2 separate regions of the Homo sapiens genome follow, and region 1 is linked to region 2. The links are contacts of gene promoters, found by promoter capture Hi-C in blood cells and fetal thymus (Javierre and others, 2016). All regions are on one chromosome and are shown on one strand. The core of a region is centred on a gene start or on the middle of the fragment in contact, and the rest is flanking DNA. Distances in the headings are between cores, read along the strand shown.

The links. The method cuts DNA at HindIII sites, captures the fragments that hold promoters and counts their contacts. A CHiCAGO score of 5 or more calls a contact.
Region 1: a contact is called between a fragment that was not itself captured here and the fragment with the promoter of CLEC2B in region 2, in 1 of 17 cell types (monocytes). The highest score is 5.5, in monocytes.

Annotation. Positions count from the first base shown.
Region 1 is chr12:10,146,805-10,152,488 of GRCh38, forward strand. No RefSeq gene overlaps it. Among named protein-coding and RNA genes, the nearest start is that of CLEC7A, 19 kb to the left of the region's middle. The HindIII fragment of the contact is 1,645 bases long and covers 3,314-4,958 here.
Region 2 is chr12:9,868,104-9,873,719 of GRCh38, forward strand. It overlaps CLEC2B (C-type lectin domain family 2 member B), which reads right to left and starts at 1,251. Exons shown (of 5, transcript NM_005127.3): 1 at 1,102-1,251. The HindIII fragment of the contact is 5,556 bases long and covers 1-1,365 here.

The DNA of each region.
Region 1 (5,684 bases), core at 2,886-5,385, 280 kb after region 2:
AAAAACTATATATATATATAGCCGGGCATGGTGGCACATGACTGTAATCCCAGCTTCGCAGGAGGCTGAGAGAGGAGAATCGCTTGAACCCGGGAGGCGGAGGTTGCACCCGCGCCACTGCACTCCAGCCTGGCCGACAGAGACCGAGACACCTTCTCAAAACTAAATAAATAAATAAAGACTTGAATCAAATTATTGTCCGCATTTATTTGATGTACATTTTAACAACATTCCATCCAACGACAACAGATTACATATTCTTTTTAAGTGTACATGGAAAATTTGCCAAGATAGATCATATTTTTGGCCATAAAATGTCTCAATAAATTTAAGGGTTTAAGTCATTAAAAATGTTTCTTCTCACATGGAAACTAATAGTATAATGATTTCTGGAAAATTCCCAAGTATTTGGAAATTAACACATTCTAAATAATCAATGAATCAAAGAGGAAATTTGAAGGGAAATTAGAAAGTGTTTTGAACTGAATAAATGTGAAAAATTACCATACCAGAATCTGTTGTATACCACTAAAGCAATATTTAAAGGAAAGTTTAAAGCACTGCATGACTATATAAAAAAGAAGAAATGCCTCAAATTAATGAACTCAGCTTCCATATTAAGAAACAAGAAAAAGAAGAAATTAAAACCCAACTAAGTAGAAAAAAGAAACAATAGCAATCAAAGTAGAAATTAATGAAATAGGAAACAAAAATATATAGACAAAGTCAATGAAACAAAGAGCTTTTTTAGACAGCAATTTCAACTTTTATTCTAGATTCAGTGGGTACATATGCAGGTTTGTTACATGGGTAAATTTCATGATGCTGAGGTTTGTAGTGCAGATCATTCTGTCACCTAGGAAGAGAGCATAGTACCCAATAGGTAGTTTTTCAGCTGACATTTCCCTTCCTCCCTCCCTCCCCCTTCTAGTAGTTCCCAGTATCTATTGTTCTCATTATTACGTCCATGCGTACTCAATGCTTAGCTCCCACTTGTAAGTGAGTACATGCAGTATTTGGTTCACTGTTCCTATGTTAATTCACTTAGGATAATGGCCACCAGCTGCCTCCATGTTGTTGCAAACAACATGATTTCATTCTTTTTTATGGCTGTGTAGTATTCCATGGTGTATATGTACCACATTTTCCTTATACAATCCACTGTCAATGGACACCTAGGTTGATTCCATGTCTTTGCTATTGTGAATAGTGCTGTGATGAGCATACGAGTGCACGTGCTTTTTGGTAGAGTGATTTATTTTCCTTCAGATATATATCCAGAAATGAGATTTTCAGATTGAATCATAGTTCTGTTTTAAGTTCTTTCAGAAATCTCCAAACTGCTTTTTATAGTGGCTGAACTAATTTACATTCCCACCAACAGGGTATAAGCATTCTCTTTTCTCTGCAGCCTTGCCACCATCTGTTGTTTTATGACTAATAATAGCCATTCTGACTGGTGAGAGATGGTGTCTCATTGTGGTTTTAATTTGCATTTCTCTAATGATTAGTGATGATGATCATTTTTTCATATGTTTGTAGGCCGCTTGTATGTCCTCTTCTGTGAAGTGTCTGTTCATGTCCTTTGCCTCTTTTTAATGGGGTTATTTGTTTATTGCTTGCTGATTTGTTTAAGCTGCTGCTGCTGCTTCTTTTTTTTTTTTTTTTTTTTTTTGAGATGGGGTTTCGCTTTTGTTGCCCAGGCTGGAGTGCAATGGTGCAATCTCAGCTCACTGCAGTCTCTACCTCCCAGGTTCAAGTGATTCTCCTGCCTCAGCCTCCTGAGTAGCTGGGACTACAGGTGCGTGCTACCACACCTGGCTAACTTTTGTATTTTTAGTAGAGATGGGGTTTCACCATGTTGGCCAGGTTGGTCTCGAACTTCTGACCTCAGGTGATCCACCCACCTTGGCCTCCCAAATTGCTGGGATTACAGGTGTGAGCCACCACACCTGGCCTAAATTTCTTATAGATTCTGGATTATTACACCTTTGTCAGATGCATACTTTACTAACATTTTCTCGTATTCTGTAGATTGTCTAATTTCTCTGTTGATAGTTTCTTTTGCTATGCAAACCTCTTTAGTTTAATTAGGTCCTATTGTTGATTACTGTTTTTGTTGCAATTGCTTTTAAAGATTTAGCCATAAATTATCTGCCTTAGCTGATGTTGAGTAGGGTATTTCCTCGATTTATTTCTAGAATTTTATAGTTTGAGGTCTTAAGTCTTTAATCCATTTTGAATCAATTTTTATGTGTGATGAAAGGTAGGGTTTCACCAGTTTCAATCTTCTGCATATGGCTAGCCAGTATATTCCAGCACTTTTACTGAACAGGGAGTCCTTTCCTATTGGTCGTTTTTGTCAACTTTGTCAAAGACCAGATAATTGTAGGTGTGCAACTTTATTTCTGGGTTCTCTATTCTGTTCCCTCAGTCTATGTGTCTGTTTTTGTACTACTATCATGCTCTTTGGGTTATTGTAGCCTTATAGTATAGTTTGAAGTTGGGTAACATGATGCCTCCAGTTTTGCTCTTTTTGCTTTGGATTGTTTTGACTATTCAGGCTCTGTTTTGGTTCTGTATGAATCTCAGGATTGTTTTTTCTAATTCTGTGAAAAATGATACTTGTAATTTGATGGTAATAGCATTGAATCTGTACATTGCTTTGGGCAGTATGCCATTTTAACAATATTGATTCTTCCAATCCATGGGCATGACATGTTTTTCCATTTATTTGTATTGGCTCTGATTTCTTTCAGCAGTGTTTTGCAGTTCTCCTTGCAGAGATCTTTCACCTCCTTGTTTAGTGGTACTCCCAATAATCATTTTATTAGTGGTTATTATAAGTGGGATTATGCTCTTAACTTGGCTGTCAGCTAGAATGTTACTGGTGTTTAGAAATGCTACTAAGTTGTGTACATTGATTTTGTATCCTGAAATTTTGTTAACATCATTTATCAGTTTTAGGAGCATACTGGCGAAGTCTTTAGAGTTTTCTAGGTATAGAATCATGTTGTCAGTGAAGGGAGATAGTCTGACTTCTTTTCCTATTTGGATACCTTTTAAGTCTTTCTCTTGCCTGATTGCTCTGGCTAGGATTTTTGGTACTATGTTGAATAGGAGTGGTGAAAGTGGACATCCTTATCTTGTTCCAGTTCTCAAGGGAAATTTTTCCAGCTTTTGCCCATTCAATATAATGTTGTCTGTGGGTTTGTCTTAGACGACTCTTATTATTTTGAGGTTATCTTTCTTTAATGCCTAGTTTGTTGAGGTTTTTTTTTTTAACCATAAGAAGAGGTTGGATTTTACTGAAAGCTTTTTCCATGTCTGTTGAGATGGGATCATATAATTTTTATTTTAAATTCTGTTTATGTGGTGAGTCACATATATTGATTTGCATATGTCAAACCAACCTTGAATCATAGATATAGCCTACTTCATTGTGGTTAATTAACTTTTTTTTGTATTATTAATTTTTATTCTTTTTAGAGACAGGCCTCGCTATGTTGCCCAGGCTAGTCTCGAGCTCCTGAGCTCAAGCAGTACTCCTGTTTCAGACTCCCAAAGTGCTGGAATTACAGGCATGAGCCACTGCACCCAACTGATTGTGGTGAATTAACTTTTTGATCTGCTACTGGATTTGGTTTGCTGGTATTTTGCTGAGGATTTTTGCATCTATGTTTATTGAGGATGTTGGCCTCAAGTTTTCTTTTTTGTTCTGTCCGAATGATACTGGCTTCATAGAATGAGTTAGGGAGGAGCCCTCTCCTCAATTTTTTGTAATAATTTCAGTAGAATTTGTACTACTTCTTCTTTGTCCATCTGCTATAATTCAGCTCTGAAGCCATCTTGTTCAAGACTTTTGTTGGTTGGTAGATTTCTTATTATTGTTTCAATTTTGGAATTTGTTATTGGTCTGTTCAGGTTTTTGCTTTCTTCCTGGTTCAATCTTGGGAAGTTATATGTTTCCAGGAATTTATCCATTTCCTCTAGATTTTTAATTTGCATAGAGATTTTCATAATGGTCTCTTAGGATCCTTTGTATTTCTGAGGAATTTGTTGTAATCTCATCTTTGTAATTTCTGATTGTGCTTATTTCTTTTTTTTATTAACCTACCTTATGGCCTATCAATCATGATTATTCTTTCAAAGAACCAGTTCTTGGTTTCATTGATCTTTCATATGGTGTTTTGCAACTCAATTTCATTCAGTTCCTGTTTGATTGTATTTTTATTTTTTATTTTATTTCATTTTTTTGAGACAGAGTCTCACTGTGTCACCCAGGCTGGAGTGCAGTGGCACGATCTCAGCTCACTGTGACCTCCACCTCCTGGGTTCAAGAGATTCTCATGCCTCAGCCCCCCGAGTAGCTGGGATTACAGGCATGCACCACCACACCAGAATAATTTTTTTTTTTTTTGAGACAGAATCTTGTTCTGTCACCCAGGCTGGAATGCAGTGGCACGATCTTGGCTCACTGCAACCTCTGCCTCCTGGGTTCAAGTGATTCTCCTGCCTCAGCCTCCTGAGAAGCTGGGACTGCAGGCAGACACCACCATGCTCAGCTAATTTTTGTATTTTTTAGTAGAGATGGGGTTTCACCATGTTGGCCAGGCTGGTTGTGAACTCCTGACCTGAAGTGATCCGCCCACCTCGACCTCCCAAAGTGCTGCGATTGCAGGCATGAGCCACTGTGCCTGGCCTAGAGTTAGTACTGATATGTGACATTGATCCTGTCATCATGTTCTTAGCTGGTGACTTTGTAGTTTCTATTGCATAGTTGCTTTATATTGTTGGTGGGCTATGTGGTTAAATGCATTTTTGTGATAGCAGGTATCATTCTTTCATTTCCATCTTTACAGCACTCCTATAAAGACGTCTTGTAAGGCTAGTCTAGTGGTAACAAATTCCCTTAAGCATTTGCTTGTCTGAGAAATTTATTTCCCCTTCACCAGTCAAGCTTAGTTTATCAGGACATAAATTTTTTGGTTGGAATTCCTTCTCTTTAAGAACACTGAAAATAGGCCCCAATCTCTTCTGACTCATAAGGCTTTTGCTTAGAGGTCTGCTACTAGCCTGATGGTCCTCATTTTGTAAACGACCTGACCCTTCTCTCTAGATGCCTTTACATTTTTTCTTTTGCATTAACCTTGATGAATCTGATAACTATGTGCCTTGGGAATGCTTGTTGTGTCTAGTATCTCATGGGGGTTATCTGTACTTCTTTTTTTTTTTTTTTTGAGATGGAGTTTCACTCTTGTTGCCCAGGCTGGAGGGCAATGGCACGATCTTGGCTCACTGCAACCTCTGCCTCCCAGGTTCAAGCGATTCTCCTGCCTCAGCCTCCCAAGTAGCTGGGATTACAGGCATGCACCACCATGTCCAGCTAATTTTTGTATTTTTAGTACAGACGGGTTTGCCATGTTGGCCAGGCTGGTCTTGAGCTCCTGACCTCAAGTGATCTACCCACCTTGGCCTCCCAAATGCTGGGATTCAGGCATGAGACAACACGCCAGGCCTTATATTTCTTAAATTTGTATGTTAACATCTCTAGTGGGAGTGGAGAGATTGTCATGGATCGTATCCTCAAATATATTTTCCAAATAGCTTACTCTCTCTCCTCTCTCAGGAATACCAATGAGTTATAGGTTTGGTCTCTCTATATAATTCCATATTTCTCAGGG
Region 2 (5,616 bases), core at 1-2,500:
ATACTGAATATATTATTCAGTAACTTTTAAAATATATTCATATGTAATATGATATATAATATTGTATTATATAATGTATTTATATACAAATGTATAAATTTATACAATTGATTGAAAGTAGAAAATAACACTGGTTTTACTAGTGGCTGGAAGGCCTTCTTAAAACTTTTGATTAAAATGATATTTTATGCTACCATCAAATATTGATCTCATTCCCCGCAAACCTGTTTTATCTAACTTTAGGCAGAATTATAAAACCGGTTAAAATACGGGAGGAAGGATAAAGTGTGCATTCTATTGTACCACAGCAATAATTTTTTTGACCGTAGCATACGCTGGTAGGTTGACATTTAGTTAAACGGGAAATGCTTAAAGCTCATCACAGTCCCTAAATCTCTAAATCATAGATCGTTGTATTGAATGCATTTAGTTTCAGCCTTTTCTCTTTCAAATATTTTGACATAAATAAACCCTGTTGAAATCTCAAAGATGTAGCTTGGATCTTATATATTCCGAACTTGCTATTTAATAAATCCAATGTTACCAGGTTGTTTCATAGTGTATTTTTTAGAACATTTTCTTTCCTTATCCTTCTTAGGGTTGGTAAAGACATCTCCATGGATATCGGAGTACTAGCAATTCCTTAGTAAGAGTAGGAAAGGGATATATTCTTTCCGTTAAGTACTCCTAAAGCCCGGAGTATCTTTACACCATCCAATAAAGCAATCTTTAAAAATATTAGAACTATTGGCTAAATTTATCATATTATGTATGCATTCTGAGAACTGTATGAGTATCTGGATCATATCTATCATCTTCTCAAGTATTTGTTTTATAAAATACTTAGTAAAAATGAAACTAAATCTTGAGCAGTTTTAAGTCATGGTTAATCCTTCTCCATTGTAATTCAAATAATGTAAAGTAAGTCTGAATTTATTAGGACAAAACAGTCATATGCAAATCTCAATCTTGTTATAAGAAGGAATTTTCTAGTTTCACAAAAGAAACCACAAAATTTAATTCTTTTCTCGAAGGCTTTAACATTCTGCATCACAATTTCAATAAATAACGGTCATTCTAAACAAACAAAAATGTTCTTACCGTGCTTCTTTTAATCAGCGTTTTGATTTTCTGCTAGCAGCTTTGTGTCATGTCTTGCAGAAACTCTCTTCAAAGTTGTAACTTTATTTAACTTTAATATAAAAATGTTACTCTTGTTTTTACAGCACAGCTCCAAACTAGAGGTATACCACTTTTGAAGAGTAACTCAAAGTATAAATAGCATTTTGCAAACTGGAAGTAACCATGTGACTATCTATTAGTCATACTGTTGTTTATTACAATTTTCTTCTCGTCAAAAAAGAAAGCTTGCCAAGGAGGAAGGAAGTTTGTGATATAACAATTTAAAGCTGAAGAATAAACACATATTTTCTTACTTTCTCAACTGGGATTCTCATCTGAACCACAGAACACGAAATTGCTCAAGTGGCTGTTTTTCTGATTCATCCAGGAGTGGTACTTAACCACGTATCCTTCCAGAACTGTAGGAGAGGCTGATACTAATTAATTCAACAGCATTCTTTAGGACATTACTGCTTTCTTATCCTGTGTTAAGAAAGATCACCTTAAAAGCGATAGAATCAAAGAAAAAGCAATGGTTTAAACTTTGGCTACTGAAAGAAAAACAAAAACTATTATCTCTCTCTCAAAGACAAATGCGTGCAAAGTCACACGTGTGGGTGTGAGCACACACACAAACACACACAAAGACACACAGAGGGAAAAAAGAAAACGAAAGTAACAAAGTGCCCAGAACGTTATCATCAGCATACAAGATGACACCATTATGCTTTTGCTAAGTTACCAGGCCACAATTTTGTCTTCAAATCTGCTCTAATCAGTTTCCCAGTGATTTTGTATTACCCCTCAACAAATATATTAGGGAGGAAACTGAGGAGAAGAAGCCAGTGTCCCGCAAGCGGCTTCGGGATTAACACTGCATTTGTTCTGAGAGAGAAACTTGAAGAGGAAAAGCAAATGAGAATAGAGAAGAAACTGTAGTACAAAGGAATTAAAACAAAGAAAATATGAAGAGAATAAGAAATACAGGTTTAATCATTTCTGGGCAGAAGGAAAGGACAGATAACAAAATTGCTCTTTTCATTTTTGGACAGAAAAAAAAGACAGAAAATTCATGAGGAAATGAATATATTCTACCTTTGTTGTTAACAAAAGATTGTATCCAAAGAACTATTAGAAAAGCATGTATAGAAAAATATAGAGATTACTCAAGTATGGTTGAGTGAAATTTAGTTTTGTTCCAAAAAGGAAAACAGTCAAGATACAACAGTTAAGATATAAAACATTTTCAACACAGGGAAATGTTCCCCGCTGTTGCTTTGCAGTTCATCCTCACCCCTGAAGCCAGGCAGCAGCCAACTTACTGTCAATAAACATGAGCTTTGCTGGTTTTAGAAATTCCTGTTAAGCAGAATGATACAGTTGGCAATTCTTGTAAGTCTGATGTCTTTCACTGAGCATAATGTTTTTGAGTTTTATCCATGTTTTTGCACAGATCAGCAGTTAATTTCTTTTTATTACTGAGTAGTATTTCATTGTACAGACATAAAATATTTTTATCTATTTTATAATAAAATGTATCCATTATGACATTGAGCTTTTTCCACTTCTTGGATATCATAAGGTCAAAATAAACATTTATGCAAAAGTTTTTCTATTGACACGTTTTTTAATCTTTTGAAGAAATACCTGGATGTGAAACTGCTAGGTTACATAGAAAATGTATGTTTTATTTTATAAATGTATTTTTTTCCAAAAAGTTGTGCCATTCCCAACATGAATATTGGATGGTTCTATTTGCTCCACATAAATAGCAATATTAGATATGCCCAATCTTTTTCAATTTAACCATTCTAGTAGGCGTGTAGTAGAATCTAAATGTGATTTTAATTTGTACATCTCTGATGTTATATTGAGCATTTACTCACGTGCGTATTGGTAACTCATATATCTTTTTTCAATGACCTATTTAAATATTTTTCCCATTTTTATGGATTTATTTGTTTCCTTATGGTGATTTTTAAGATTTTATATATATGTAAATATATATGTAGAGAAACATACACATAAAAATGTGTATATAAATAAGTAAAATGGGTTGCAACATAATATAGAAAAATTCCATTTTTAGATAAATGTATTAAAAATACTTTCCATCATTTGTATAGTGACTTTTCACAATTTTTTTTCTCAAAAATTTTAAAAATCTAGAAGCTTCTAAACGTTGGACTCTCTAATCCTAACAAAGTTACATGTTCTCCCTTGTCGAGGTCATGCCTTTTTCCTTAAAGAAAATATTGTGCCCTTCACACCCTCCTTACAGGAATCCCTCCCTTACTTGCCTTTCTTAGTTATTGGTCATAAGGCCAATAACTAAGGTTATGTGCTAAGCTTATAAGGGAGAGAAAGGGCTATACTCAGAATGAATTTGGACCTAACCAATATATAATAACAACAGCTTGGAGTGTACACAATGGGATTGGATTCTGAGGGTGCTAGATCATGAGAGAAACATAAAGCTGGATAAGGGAGATTTTATCAACATTAGGGCATTCAGTTGCAATACAGAATTTAATAACTTGGAAAAATACTGTGAACAGTGCTGACATACTGCTGAAATAACTCCAAGAAGATTGGAGAAAGCAATGGCTCACGCTGAGTAGAGTAACATTCCAGAATTCCCATGGCAGGTAGCTGAAGAAAAGATAAAAATGCTTAGAGAAGTGGGCATGCTACAGTGGATAAACTAGATAAGGACAGGAAACCCACCAACTGACTATGTTCTATGGGATGATATAATGGGCACCTTATTTACCAAAGCAGTAAGGAAGGCGCTGGTGGAAGAACTTAAGTCCTACATAAACATCACTGAGAAGCTTAGCATAGTTCTTCTCTACATGCCAAAGATTACAGTGGGAGATGTTCCCACAGAACTGAATTCAGAGAGAGTATTGGGACAGGGTTTGAAGTAGGAAACGCCAAGTGTCAGAGTGCCACTCTGAAACAAGCTGGGGCCAATTATAGTAATGAGGGTCAAATTGCAATAGCAGCCAGGATTACTGACATATAGAGCCATAGCAATGTCAGATAGAGCTCAATGTTCACAGAAGTAATATAGAGAGCCAAAAAGGGTGCTTCCACTTCTGTGCTGTCCTTTAACAACTGGTGGAACAGAGAAAAACACACACATAACAAGCTCTGGTTTGTAACACCAGCTGATTTCCGTGATGTAATTATTCCCACCATTGCTGATTTCAAGGTACCCAGGTGACATCACTGAACACACAGAGTTGGAAATAAATATGCAGTAGTACAGCATTACGTATTATTTTCACTATACGGATGTAACAGATGTTAATAATTTCATGCATGGATAATAGCAAAATCTTCTAAAAATCATCACAAATTGATGAGTTCTAAGTATTTATTTTATTAGCTTGGCATTAGGGCCACAATGACTCCAAATGTCATGACCCAGGTTAGGTTCCAGCCCATGCTGAGGTCTGAGGGGAGTGGGTGGATGGGCGATAGCTGAAAGAACACTTGGGGGCCCTAAGCAGGTGAAATGTAGTTTTATTTACCAACAGCGACTCTCTCACACTGTCTGCCTTTATCTCCGCTGTCTGCTCTGGCTCTGGGACTCCTGCCGCCGCCACGCCTGCAGCAGCACGCCCTGGCCTGCAAGGCCAGCTCTGTCAGGATTAGCAGCTTAACTCTTTCCCTCTGGGCACAAGCTCGTTCCTGGTTCCCCTCTGCCTGCCTTCAAGGCGACTGGCTCTCCCTTACAAGGGTCAATAGTGCTACTCTCTTTCTGGGCACCAGTGCGAGCCATGTCATGCCATGCCACGCCATGCTGAGCCAAGGCAAGCCCAAGAGCGCCTGTACAGCATCAGCAGGGCAGTTATACCTTTTCCAAACAATAGTGGATTTGAGCCAAGTATGAGCTTACACAAACAGGTTATATAACAAGTGGAGTTATATGCCTGCACTCCAAACTCATTAAGTCACTATGGCCTGGATGTCTGCCTCAGCCTACTTCTTGACCAAAGCACATTTATGCACCTTACTGTTGGTGCAAAAGTTACTTTAGATAATTTTTAAAAATAATGATGTTTAACAATTGGCTCGAGAACCCTTGAAAATTTAACAGTCAGCTGTATACCACTGACTTTGCTGGACATGTACAACGGGAAAGAAATCAAGGGTGGATTACTAGTAGGCTAAGGGCAACCATGTACTCAAAACGTATAAACTATTACCCTAATCTAGTTTGGCCCAAGCCAGTTTTCTGACAGAGGACCCAATAATGGGAGAACTCATCCTTAAAAAGAAGCCCTCTTCAACACCAAGACTAGAGTAAATGGTAAGTATTTCTCCAGTCCATCCCCAGTGCGACTTATATTAGGCTTCTCAAGCTACCATAATGAAATAACATAGGCTGGGTGGCTTAAACAACAGAAATTTATTTTTCATCATTCTGGAGGCTCAAAGCCTAAGATCAAGGTGCTAGCCAGGTTAGTGTTCAATGAGGTCTCT